2 separate regions of the Homo sapiens genome follow, and region 2 is linked to region 1. Evidence: promoter capture Hi-C in human tissues and cell types (Jung and others, 2019). All regions are on one chromosome and are shown on one strand. Each heading gives the region's core, a stretch centred on a gene start or on the middle of the fragment in contact. The rest is flanking DNA. Distances are from core to core; before and after follow the strand shown.

What was found. The method cuts DNA at HindIII sites, captures the fragments that hold promoters and counts their contacts. A contact is called where the count stands out against the background at its distance.
Region 2: a contact is called between a fragment that was not itself captured here and the fragment with the promoter of GAB1 in region 1, in 1 of the 25 tissues and cell types used here (hippocampus).

Annotation. Positions count from the first base shown.
Region 1 is chr4:143,332,434-143,339,353 of GRCh38, reverse strand. It overlaps GAB1 (GRB2 associated binding protein 1), which reads right to left and starts at 2,478. Exons shown (of 10, transcript NM_002039.4): 1 at 2,094-2,478. The coding sequence starts at 2,165. It also overlaps the pseudogene LOC124900789. RefSeq lists enhancers at 1,739-2,552, 3,462-3,671 and silencers at 2,582-2,631, 2,702-2,761, 2,862-3,161, 3,102-3,269. The HindIII fragment of the contact is 14,684 bases long and covers 1-6,920 here.
Region 2 is chr4:145,087,489-145,094,408 of GRCh38, reverse strand. The region is part of intron 2 of ANAPC10 (anaphase promoting complex subunit 10); the gene reads left to right. Among named protein-coding and RNA genes, the nearest start is that of ANAPC10, 7.2 kb to the left of the region's middle. The HindIII fragment of the contact is 6,056 bases long and covers 1,320-6,920 here.

The DNA of each region.
Region 1 (6,920 bases), core at 1,229-3,728:
TTTTTAGTAGAGACAGAGTTTCGCCATGTTGGCCAGGCTGGTCTCCTGACCTCAGGTGATCCACTGGCCTCGGCCTCCCAAAGTGCTGGGATTACAGGTGTGAGCCTGAAGGACCTTTAGAGATAACCTAGTCTAAGCTCCACATTTGAAATGAACTAGGTGAGAGTCGTTAACCTTTTACAGTCCAATCAATCAGGCAGATCTGGGTTCAAATGCAGGACTGTTTTCTGTAAAATAGAGATGACACCTACCTCAGAAAACAGTTGTAATGATCAAATTATACTTTCCTTTTTGTTTTTCTTGTTAAGACATAATCTTTTTGGCTGATTTCTTTCCTGGTTAATAGTTCAATTGAATTCTAAGCCCAAGAGGCAGGGCTTTTTTCCTTTTTCCTACTGTATTTTGTGACCTTATGGTTGGTGTCTAATACAGTGCCTGGCGTCTTTTGAGTGAGCCATGAACTAACCATGTGAAAGAATGAATTAAACCTATATTATCACTTTCACGTTCAGCAAATATGTTATTCTTTAATTCCTCCAAGAATCTGTTTTTCCTAAATTGGGCCTTCTCAAAACAAATATATTTATCTCCCTACCCCTTTCTCCCTTCCTTCTCTGTCACATACACACACACACACACACCCCTACCTTTCTCTTTAGAACAGCTGGAAAAAAAAACACTGCCTCGTTCATATTTTTGGAATAAAGTTAGCATTTTTACTAGGATATTCAGGAAAACTGATAGATGGACAGGATTTGGAGGCATTACACATCTCTGGAGAGCTTTCTTATGATTTGTGGCATCGAGTCTTTCAATAAAATTACTTGTCTATAATAAATTCTGGCAGAAAGTAAATCAGAAATTCACTGGTGAGTTGTCAGTGAAGTTAAATACTTCACTCTGTGTACTTCACTCTGTTCTATACAAGCAAACAGTGACTAACAGGATTAACCTGAGCTCTAATACTGGGTGTAGATATTCCTCAACGACAAACGGGTTCCCTTCGTACAGGCATTAAATTTATATTATATTTAAGGGGGCATAAATTTTGCTTTTGCAAACACATTTTACTAGAAAAATATTTGATCCAGATGTCAGCACAAAAGTGTCATTTCTTTCCTTTGCAAGGGAGCAGCAACAAAACAACCAATGGGGAGGAAGAATAAGATCCCAGACCTCTGAAGAGGACACAGGTTTCCACTAAAGCAAGGTTGATACTTTCAAGGAATATTTTTCCTAACAGCTAAAACGGTTTAACACATAGCATCTTGTATCAATTACACAAACACCATTAAAGCCACTCTGGTTCCCTGGGAAAGGACCGCAACTGAAATCCCTTCTGGCTTCAGCTGTCCCCTCCTGCCGAGTTTGACAGCACATCCAAGGCGCCCAAACACCAGCCACTAGGCTCCCCCCCAGCGCCCTCCTCTCGCAGCAAACCGCCAAGGCTCCCGGGCCAAACTCCAAAGTCCCTCAATTCAAAACCGCGAAAATGTGAACCCTGCTAAGCAAACGGCAGGGCGCGTAATAACTTTTCTTTCTTTCCCTTTTGCGCGCGTTCGATATGCTTGTCTCTACTACCAACTCCTCAGCTCCACAGCCCGCTTCCCGCAACCCATCTCGAGGGGCGGAGGAGAGGGAGCGCCCACCAAAGAAAGGGCTAGTGAGCCCTAAAACCTCGGCAGTTTTCCCGGTGCGGGAGCTTTAGCACACATCAGCCCAATAATCAGATGCAGGAATAAAGCAGGAAGAAGGCTCCTCTCTCCATCGCACCCCATCCTTCCTAAGGAAGAAAAAAAGCATGCAGCAGGAGTTTAGCTGGACGTCTAGGTCCTTTTATGGGGCGAACAGGCCCGCAAAGCAGGCTGTCTGGAACCTGGAGGAAGAAAGTTGTCCGGCCAAGTGGATGCCTGGGCGTGAGGGAGTGCAAGGCACCCTGTCCCGAGCCCGCCAGGGGTAGGGGCCAAGGGGAAAGAGACCGGCATTCGTTTAAGAACCAGCCCCGCGCGCGGCCAGCTGCAGCCGCCGGCGAGCCGACTGGGGAGGGGTGTGGACGCCGAGGCCCGCGGAGTGGTGCCCGCAGCTCTACTTACATAACGCTTCAACTTTTTCTCCGGGGGGGACTTGCGGAGCCATCCGGAGCAGACCACTTCACCACCGCTCATGGTGCGCGCGTCTCGGGCTCCGGGCCGGGCAGCTGAGGGGCGGCGGGCGCGCTCCCGACACAGCCGACGCCTGCCGAGCGCGCAGTGGCGAGAACCTAGCTCTCCTGGTCGCGCACCCCGGACGGACTGGGCGGACAGACTCCACGGTGCGCGGGTTCCACGAGTTCGAGTCTCTCCTCTGCAGGCCCACGAACCTGAACAGAACGCGAGCCGGGGCCGCGGGCGCGCCGGCCTCCTTTCAGTGCGCCCGCCTCGCCTCCAGACGTGCCGTCTCGCCAGCTGCCTCAGCAGCGCTCGGACTCAGCGGGACTCTGCCCCGACTCGGTGCCGGAGCTTCTGTCCTTTGCGCTCCGCCCCCTAGGGACAAGACCTCCCCAGAGCGCTTTCCGAAACAGACACAGCGCTGCTCACACACACACACACACACACACACACACACAATGCCCCGCGCGGTGCCCGCTCGCCCGCCCACCCGCCCTCGGTTTCGATGCGCCCGGAGCGATCCTCCTTCCCTCTCCTCGGGGGAGGGTGGGTCACTTCGCGGCGCTCGGTGAACGCCGAGGAAAGGGGAAGCCGCGAGCCGCCTACGGGCAGCGGGCGCGGGGCTGGTCCCGGGTCACAGAGGGAGCCGCAGGGTTGGCAGCGAAGCGCGGGGCGTTTCTGAGCGGCGGGCGCAGGGAGGTCGCAGGTCAAGCCGGAGGGTGGGTCCGCTCTCGCGGCCGCCGAAGAGGGCGGGGAGCAGCAGAGGAACGAGGCGCTTGGCGGCTTGGCTCCTGGGAGGGATCCCGCTGTCCCGTCCCCTCGCGCTCCTCCCCCGCCGCCTCCCCCACCCCGGGGCTCGCGGCAGGTCCTGAGCGGCTCGGCCCCAGATCCCGATCCCTCCCTCCCTCTCCCGGCCGCCGGGCTCCTTCTTCCTCCCTCTCCTCCTCCCCTTCCCACGTTCAGGCCCGGCTCCGGTTTCTGCCCAGACTTTCTCTGAAACTCCGCCGGAGTGCTTCCAGCCAAAACAACAAGGGCCGGGGGAGGAGACGGACGAAGGGAGGGAGCAAGGGAGGGAGGGAGCGCGAGTCCGAGAGGCACCCTGGGATCTGTAGTTCGGGAAGCAGGAGCAGGGTCCTCCGCCGTCCGGCGGCCCCCAATCGGCTCCTCGCCCGGGAAGACCGCAGAGGCCTCGGCTAGGGCAGAGGCACCGGGGCTTGGGCGCGGGGAAGACTGAGGGACATTCGAATGTTCAGTCCGGGGCTTGCCATCTTGACTCAGCCCGGTGCCAGCTCGGAGCTTGTGCTGTGCTCGAGATCAGGAGTTTCGAGGGTTTTCTTTACTTGAGAGCCTGAAAGGCAAAACCGCGGGGAGACCACCATCCTGCCGGTCCCCGCCGCGCGAGATTAAAGGACAGACCAAGAGGGCGCGGGAGCTACCAGCTTGGAGGGGAGGACAGATGGGGACCCAGGGCTGGCCAGGGCTGGTCTCTGGAGCTGTTCTGCCAGAGTGATGGGGGCGCTTGGCGAGGCCAAGGATTTGGTTGGGTCCTATCTCTGAGACATTTTGAAGTCTCACACCCCTTCCATTTGTTGCCTATTCCACTTAACTTTGTATTTGTTTGAAATCTACTGTTCGGATGCTGGACTAGAAGAGGGACACTTGGCCGGGCGCGGTGGCTCACGCCTGTAATCCCAGCACTTTGGGAGGCCGAGGCGGGCGGATCAACTGAGGTCGGGAGTTCAAGACCAGCCTGACCAACATGGAGAAACCCAATCTCTACTAAAAATACAAAAATTAGCCGGGCGTAGTGGCGCGCGCCTATAATCCCAGCTACTCGGGAGGCTGAGACAGGAAAATAGCTTGAACCCGGGAGGCGGAGATTGCGGTGAGCCGAGATCGCGACACTGCGCTCCAGCCTGGGCAACAAGAGCAAAACTCCGTCAAAAAAAAAAAAAAAAAAAAAGAGAGAGAGAGAGAAAGAAGGAAGGAAGGAAATTTACTGGGTACCCTAGTTCTATTTGCCTACTTCCTTGTGTGTTTCACAATTATTATACTGGTCCTGAGTTTAACATGATTCTGTAATAAACATCTTCTCCAATTTATTTGTGAAAAAGCCCCAAAGCCAATTTCAGCAGATAATATAATCAGATAAAAGTGCTAAAAATATGACGACATAAATGAGCATTTCTGGAAAGACATAACTTCAGTCATTTTCTTATTAACACAACATTCATATTCTGAAGCTCCTCTGAGTTTGAAAATGTTAGATGATTGTAATAAGAAATTAGGTGCTGGAGTGGTGACAAGACAAAGATCCCTGCATATATGGAGGTAGTGGCATAGGGTAGTAAGCAAATAAAGAGTCAACAAAACTACAGATTGAGACTCAGTCTCAAAAAAGAAAAATCTGAAAAAGCCTGGTTCCCACTGGGGTTTAGAGACCGTCATCTTTTGGCAGGCACTTAACAGTATCACAAGGGCGGAACTTCTTGCAGATCTGGATGCACTTTTCAGGTCATCAACTGAGTAGTCGTGACCTTGGGTAAATTACACAATGTCTCTGAGTCTCAGTTTCCCGATATGTGAAATGGGAATTGCAACACCGATTTTGCAGAAGTTTAATGAGAAATAGAAATGGTAGTGTTGGCCAGGTGCGGTGGCTCACGCCTGTAATCCTAGCACTTTGGGAGGCCTAGGTGGGTGGATTGCCTGAGCTCAGGAGTTTGAGACCAGACTGGGCAACTCAGTGAAAACCCGTCTCTACTAAAATACAAAAAATTAGCCGTGGCGGCGTGCGCCTGTAGTCCCAGCTACTCGGGAGGCTGAGGCAGGAGAATCGCTTGACCCGGGAGGCGGAGGTTGCAGCGAGCCGAGATCGCGCTACTGCACTTCAGCTTGGGCGACAAAGCGAGATTGTGTCTCTAAAAAAAAAAAAAGAAAAGAAAAGAAAAGAAAAGAAAAGAAAAGAAAAGAAAAGAAAAGAAATGGTAGTGTTGGTCGGTTAGTCGGGCGCGATGGCTCGCGCTTGTATTCCCAGCACTGTGGGAGGTCTAGGTGAGCAGGTCACTTGAGGCCAGGAGTTTGAGACCACCCTGGCCAACGTGGTGAAACCCAGTCTCTACTAAAAACACAAAAATTAGCCGGGTGTGGTGGCACGCGCCTGTAGTCCCAGCTACTCGGGAGGCTGAGGCAGGAGAATCGCTTGAACCCAGGAGGTGGAGGTTGCAGTGAGCCGAGATCGTGCCACTGCACTTCAACTTGGGAGACAGAGCGAGACTGTCTCTGAAAAATAAATAAATAAATAAAAAGGAAAATGGTAGTGTTGGTTGGGCGTGATGGCTTGCACTTGTAATCCCAGCACTTTGGGAGGTCTAGATGAGCAGGTCACCTGAGGCCAGGAGGTCGCGACCATCCTGGCCAACGTGGTGAAAACCCAGTCTCTTCTAAAAACACAAAAATTAGCTGGGTGTGGTGGCGCGTGCCTGTAGTCCCAGCTACTCAGGAGGCTGAGGCACAAGAATCACTTGGACCCGGGACAGGGAGGTTTCAGAGAGCTGACATAGGGCCACTGCACTCCAGCCTGGGTGACTGAGTGAGAGTCTGTCTCGAAAAAAAGGAAAAAAGAAATGGTAGTTTTAAATATCAGGCACATATTAGATATTGTAGGATTTTTGCTGTTTGTTGCTGTATTTCTTAATGTTCTTTCTGAAACATAAACAAGCGTAATTTTTATGGCAGCTAATAAACCAAAGCACTTCTTTTTAAGTATGTGAATATAAATCATGCCACAAATCTTCCAAATGAAAATAAACCATCAAATTTGTTTTCCTCTTCTCCCATAGGCAGCATGTAGCTACATTGAGCCAAAAGTATAATTAGCATTAGTAAGACTAGTATTGTTGAGTAGTTAACTATTGGCTTTAGCAAATTTACCATTTCCTACACTCTTGTTATAAAGTTCTTTGTAAATGGAAAATTGTAATATATCTTGTATTATTTAGCTTTGGGAATTTCCACAAATTTTTTTCTTTATTTCAAATAAGGCATTCAGTTATCTCATTCCTATGTAAAAAATCTTTAAGTGTTTTTCCTATCTTCTACTGAGTTGTTTTAGGCTTGTATTTCTAGAAATTAAATCAGGGTTGAAGAGAAATTGAAGATAGATATGTCTCCATGTATATATTTTAGAAAGGAAATTTGCCTTATTTTTATATGTCATGTTTAGATTATTTGTTAAATCATATTTTATATCTTTATGCCTTAAAAGGCACGCTGGAAAAAGTTATTATATGTTAGTATCTTAAATTTTATTCATACAACGAATATTTATGGGATGCCTATTATATGCCAGTCCCTGAGGACCCAGGATACAGTAGGGGAAAGCCAGACCTGTTCCCACACTCCTCTTTCCTAGAGAAAAGCTTTTGCAGATAATTAACCCCATCATTTTGGCAATACAGTTGATAAATGCTATGGAAGAAAATATAGTGTTGTTTGGGCATATAACAGAGGATGTACCCCCCAGGAGTAGGGCGGTAGGTTGGGAAGGACTTCCCTGAGGAAAAGACTTTTTTTTTTTTTTGAGACGCAGTCTCACTCTATCTCTCAGCCTGGAGTGCAGTGGCACAATCTTGGCTCACTGCAACTTCCGCCTCCTGGGTTCAAGCTATTCTCCTGTCTCAGCCTCCCAAGTAGCTAGGATTACAGGCGTGCACCACCACGCCCGGCTAATTTTTGTATTTTTAGTAGAGGCGGGGTTTCACTGTATTGGTC
Region 2 (6,920 bases), core at 3,098-5,597, 1.8 Mb before region 1:
GCAGCATTATAATCGAATATATAACATTGCCATCATCCCACAAAGTTCCCTCATGTCTCTTTATGGTCAGTCTTCTGGGCCTTTCCAAGCCCCTGACAGCTCAGTTTTGGGTCCCTTTGGTTTCGCCTTTCCCAGAATGCCGATATAAATACTGTATGTAGCTTATTGGGTCTAGTGTCTTTCATTTAGCATAATTCACTTGTGGGTTTTGCTGGGGCACATATCTGTAGTTTATTCCTTTTTATTGTTGATTACTGTTCCACAATATGGGTGTACCAGTTTGTTTATCCATTCACCAGATTAGTAGTAGCTAGCTTTCAAAATGGTCCCCAGTTATCCTTGCCTTCTGGTATTCATGCCCTTCTGTGGACCGCTTCCAAATTGTGTCAGGATTGGTTTCTGGGACCAGTAGAATAAGGCAAAACTGATGGTATATGACTTTTGAGACTAGGTTGTAAAAGACATTGTGTCCATTATTTCTTCAATTATTTCTTTTGCCCTATTGCTTCTCTATTATCTTTCTAAGAATCTGGGAATCCAATTATACATATGCTAGACCATTTGTTATTATCCCACAGCTTTTGGGTACTCTATTTTTTTTCACTTTTTTTGGAGTTGTGTTTCAATTCTGGTATTTTTCATTGGCCTGTCTTCAAATCTGCTGCATTCATCTTTGGCTTTATTGAATATACTGATAATTCTGCCTAAGAAATTTTTCATCTGTGATATTATATTTTTTATTTGTAGCTCTTCCATTTGACTCGTAGAATTTTCATCTCTATTGAAATTCCTGTCTGTTAACACATTTCATCTACCTTTCTAGGTTTTTGTTTTTTTTTTTTAACATCTTACTCATAGTTATAGTTATTTAAGATTCCTGTCTGGTAGTTCCAACAACTGGGTCATCTCTGGGTCTGTTTCTGTTTATGATAATTCTGTTTTTCTTTTTGTTTGTCTTTTTTTTTTATTGAGTGCCAAATATGTGCAGATTAGTAGATACTGAGATAAATAGTTTTTACACCTTGAAATGGGTGCCTTTTTTCTATCATTTGTCCTTTATTGTGGGATTTGCATTAGTTAGGAATTGAGCTGAGTTTGAGTTTTGTTATTGCTATGGTTACCTTCAGTGTCTCACAGGCTTCAAATTCCTCTAAAGATGCCCTGTGCTTACTGTGAGAACATTGTGCCAGAGACATTTTCTTATTTTTCTATATAATAGTTCCACTCCAGTTTTCCTGTGCTTTGGCGCACACTTGTGCTACAGAGGGTGCCTCTTGCCATGCTCTTGCCCTACCTCCAGCTGTAGAATACTGTGTTTCATTACTCAGTTCAGGGTATGAGAGGCAGGTTAGTTCTCTGTTTTCCTAGTGCAGCTACACTCTTAGGTAGGCTGTATGTGCCTGGCCTCAGCATTTTGGCCCCTGCTGTTCATGACAGCCTTGTATCTGTGGCTGGTCTTTTGTGGTAAAGAGTTTTCTGCCTCACTCTGAGAAAGGACTGTTGTTTGCCCCTCTCTCAGGTATAGAGAGTTTTTTCTTTTACTCATCTTTCAGCAAGGATGGATTGTATTTGTGTCCTGGGGTCAACAGGGTTGATTCTCCTCCTACAGTAGCTTAAGTCCTTTCCTCTATGGGAGAGAAGGGTTTGGAAGGAGGGTAGAACGTTTTGCTTTCCTTCACTGGTGGTCAGTCCCCTCCTCTGTATCTGTAGCACTGACTTAGGCTGTTTAGTCTCTTCCCCTCTCCCAGTCTTTATGTGTAAAGTGAGGGCCCTTGCAAAAGAGTCTGAGAGTCAGTGTGAATTCACCTTGTGTTTTGGGCTCTCAGTGTTGCTGTACTATTATGCTAGCCTGCATTTGGTCTTTGTCAAATTATTAAAGTTATACTTGGTTTCTTCTTATGTATTTATTTGGTCTTGTTCCTTCCTCCTATGCTCTACTACAGTTGGGACAATCTGTAATCTTTTTTTCTCCTGGGAATGGGGGCTGCCCCATTCCTGGATTTCAGGCTGTCTGGTAGGAGTTTGTAGTTTATCCAGCTTTTTCTGTTGTTTGGATGGAGGTGATTTTTTTTAATTTAAATTTTAAGTTTAAGTTCTGGGGTACATGTGTAGGATGTGCAGGTTTGTGACATAGGTAAATGTGTCCCATGGTGATTTGCTGCACCTATCAACTTATCACATAAGTATTAAGCCCAGCATGCATTAGCTATTTTTCCTAATGCTCTCCCTCCCCCTACCCCATCCTGACAGGCCCTAGTGTGTGATGTTCCCCTCCCTGTGTCCATTTGTTGTCATTGTTTAGCTCCTATTTATAAGCGAGAACATGTGGTGTTTGGTTTTCTGTTCCTGTGTTAGTTTGCTGAGGATGATGGCTTCCAGCTCCTGAAAGGGAGAGGCAGGGTAGTTCTCTGTTTTCCTAGTGCAGCAGCAGTCTTAGGTAGGCTGCATGTGCCTGGCCTCAGCATTTTGGCCCCTCCTATTCAAGATAGCCTTGTATCTGTGGCTGGTCTTTTGTGGTCTTTTGTCCAAGTCCCTGCAAAGGACATTATCTCATTCCTTTTTATGGCTGGATAGTACTCCACGTGTTTACAGTGTTGGTGGAAATGTAAATTAGTTCAACCATTGTGGAAGACAGTGTGGCGAGTCCTCAAAGATGTAGAACCAGAAATACCATTTGACTCAGCAATCCCATCACTGGGTATATACCCAAAAGAATATAAATTATTATTTTACAAAGATACATGCACATGTATGTTCATTGCAGCACTATTCATAATAGCAAAGATGTGGAATCAACCCAAACGCCCATCAGTGATAGATTGAATAAAGAAAATGTACATATACACTATGGAATACTGTAGCGGTGATTTCCCCCTCCCCCCGTTTTTTAAAAGCTTTTTCAGCTTTCTTTTGGGTTCTTTGGAATTCCTTAATATCCATTATTGTATCAAATATTCCTGTAAATATGATTAAATTGAACATCTTTCACTGTTTGATCTATTAGTATGACTAGACTGGTGCCATATTGTGTCAGTAATGAGATACAAATCAGTGCTAGTTGAACTCCTTTGGTAAAGTTTACCTTCCTTGGTAAACTAGCACTGAATCGTACCTCATTACTATCACAATATTGCACCAGTCACTGGTTTGAAGAGAGCAACACATGTCACCAGTTTCCTGAAAATGCCCCACTGCTCTGACATCTTGGAGGTGCAGAAGAGATCAATAGTTACTGCTACTAGAGGAGTGGCAGGATCACTTAAAAATGTGTTGAGTATGAAATTCATGAAGTTCAGTAGTGCAATGTCATATGTCTTACTTCATGTGATTTTGAGCTTTGAGTCTATCAGTGAAATATCATTATATGATTAGCATTTTACATATTAAGAATGACTACTCTTTATAAACAGGAAACTGCATGAGAAAGTGATTGCTCGATCTTTGCTTCTCTAGGGTCAGATATTTTTCAGTTTAAGTCAGCAGATAGTTGCTGAGATTTGTAACTCAAACTTGTTAGAGATTGAAAGACAAAAAAGACACAATCTTTACTGTCAAGGACTTCACAATTTAGTGGAGGAAGTATAGCTTTAAACTATTACTACATAATGTAATAATTAATAACTTTTATTTAGTGCTTACTAAGTGATAGATGCTGTTCTAAGAACTTTACATGCATAAAATAACCAGTTATCTCAGTAAGGTTTTCAAAAGTTATATATGAAGTTGTACTATTTCTTTTACCATTTTCCAAATGAGGAAACTAGTACAGAAAGATTAAGTAATTTGACAAAGATCACATGATAAGCAGGAAATTCTGGAATTCAAGACAGACTCCATTACACAATAGTGCTTTCCACTAAATATGGGCTCAGTGTAGAACTAGCCCAAAGAAGAAAGTGATTTACTTTGCTTGAAACGATCATGGAAGTCTTCATGGAGATGATGCTTATTCTGTATGATGAAGCAAGAATAAGATTTCACTAAGGACATAAAAGCAAGGGAAATGGGACAGTTAGCCTTCCATATCTGTAGGTTCTAATTTCATGGATTCAACTAACTGAGGGTTGAAAATAGTTGGAAAAAACCCACAAAAAATAACAATACAACAACAAAAATAACACAAATAGAAAAACAACACTGTACAACTTTTTACATATTTACATTATATTAGGTATTATAAGTAATCTAGAGATGATTTGAAGTATACAAGAGGAGCCATTTTAAATAAGGGACTTGTGCATCAGTGGATTTCGTTAACCACAGAGGTCCTGGTACCAATCCTCGTTGGATGCCAAGAAATGATAATATGTGCAGAGGTATACAACTTAAACAAAACATGGCTTAGTCAATTAATTTCATGTAGTAAATGAGACTAGAAATAGGGAAATGGCGTATGTGAAGCTGTATAGTTAGGTAGAAGCCTGATTATAGAAGACTTTATTAAACAATTCATACTTTACTGTATAGATAATATGAGCAGTTGAAAAGGTAAGTAACAGAGTAAAACAATCAGTGTTTGTTCATATTTGAGAAGTGTGGAGGATGGATTGAAGTGAGGCAAGATTAGAAATAAAAAGGAAATCAGGAGACGCGATAAATCAGATAGGAAGTGATATAAAGGAGAATTTTAAGAAATTTTCAAAATGTTAATGTCAGTCTTTGGGAGATACAGATTTACTTGCCTGCTACAGGATGGTAGGTGGCACATGGCTTTGCAAAAATCTTTTTGTATCTTTGAAATAATGGTTCAATATTTCATTCAGATTAAAGTTGGAATGTGTTTAGTAGATTCAGCTTAGTTGAACACACACCACAAAACAATCTTACAATTCAGCACAATTGTTAGTCTCTACCTAAGAGACTGGAAAAACAAAAGAACAAATTTGTGTTATGACTGCTACCGTATAATAGGGTCTTTTAAAATAATTTAATCATTTCATAAGCACCAAATTAATCCAATGTTGAAAAACAAATTTAGGGGAAAAATAAGTACATCTGCTGTGCTTAACTCTATATTTGATACAAAGAAGGGATTCAGTATGGCTGTATTTTGTGAACATCTTACAGGGCTTATATGCTATTTGTTCCCTGTTTTTTTTTGAAGACATTGAGTTAATTCTTAGAAGGTTAATGGGATGTTGTAAATTCTGTTTTTCTTAAAATAAAAATCACTAAATTTTTATTGAAGTTCATGCTATAACTGACAATTATGGCCTTTGAGTTAAAGGATTTCTGAGTTGAATAGTGATATTTGCTTTGCAGAAAATAAGACAGCAATATAATAGAAAGTAACTTTAAGTGGGAGGCTACATTAGTTTGTGGGATTATGGAAGGCCTCTTTTATAAGTGAAATTTGCACAGAGACATGAATGTTAAGAAGAATTCATTGTGCAAAGATTTCAGAGAAGAACTTTCTTGACACCAGGAAGTTAGTTCAAAGGCTCTAAGTTAGTTGATTTGGCATTTTAGAGGTTCAGAAAGAAGGCTATAGGGGCTGGAGAGCAGTGAGTAAGGAGGAGAAATGGTAGAGTGGATTGGAAATGTAATTAGACATGGTGGGACAGATTATATGAACTCTTGTAGGCCCTGAAAAAGAGTATTGATTTTAAGTACAAAGGGAAACCACTGGAGGTGTTAAGCAGGAGAGGAAGATGATCTGATACAGAATTTTTAAAAGATGACTGTGTCCACTGTGGATAATGGTTGATAGTGGCATAATGGTGAACACCAATGGAGGAAATGATGTTATAGTAATTTATGTTAGAGATGATGTTGATTTGGACTAGGATTAAGAACTGTTGATATGGAAAGGAATGATGGCTTTGGGATATATTTTTAGAGGTGGAATAATTACGATTCACAGGAGGAAACCTTCAGAGTGACCTTTCTGGCAGAACAACTCATACTGTTTCCTGAGTTGAGAAAGAAGGAGGGAGTGGAGGGAGTAAATAGATTTTGGGTCAAAAAATAAATAATTTAATTTATATATGTTAATTTTGCAATGCCTATTTTTCTAGTTGAAATGTTTAGTAAGCAATTGACTGTAGAGGCTGGGAGCTCTGCTTGAAGTTCTGGGTTGGAGATACAAATTTGAAGGTCATCAGTGTGCCAATGATATTCTAAGGGAACTGGACTAACTCATCTAGGGAGAGAATTTAGAGAAAAGAATAAAGCTTTGGGACACTTGAAGATGAAGAGATCTGGCAGAATAGTGGAAGAGGTGTCAACAAAGGATACTAAGAAGTGGCTAGTGAACTAGGAGGAAAACCAAGAGAGTGAGAAATCATGGATAGAAGTCAAGAGGAAACAAGTGTTTCAGGAAGTTAGTTAATTCTTCATTTCTCTTTTATTTTTATTCTTTGAGGTGGAGTCTCGCTCTGTTGCCCAAGCTGGAGTGCAGTGGTGCGATCTCAGCTCACTGCAACCTCCACCTCCCGGGTTCAAGTGATTCTCCTGCCTTAGCCTCCCAGGTAGCTAAGATTATAGGTGCGCACCACCACACTCAGCTAATTTTTTTTATTTTTAGTTTAGACAGGGTTTCACCATGTTGGCCAGGCTGATCTCAAACTCTTGACCTCAAGTGATCCGCCCACCTCAGCCTCCCAAAATGCTGGGATTATAGGCATGAGTCATTGCGCCTGGCCTCATCTCTTTATTGTTGTACTAATACTTCATATTATAATCTATTTGCTTAAATCTATCAGTGCTGTCCATTAGAACTTAGTGCACCATGCAGTGAGGTAACTACTAGCTACATGAAACTATTGAACATTTGAAATGTTACTACTGTTACTGAGGAACTAAATTTTTAATTTTACTTCGTTTAAATGTATATAGCCACAGTGTAGGTCTAGTGCATGATATGGATGAACTTCTCTACAGAGACCATTTGTATCTATCTTTAGGTCTTCATAGTTAAG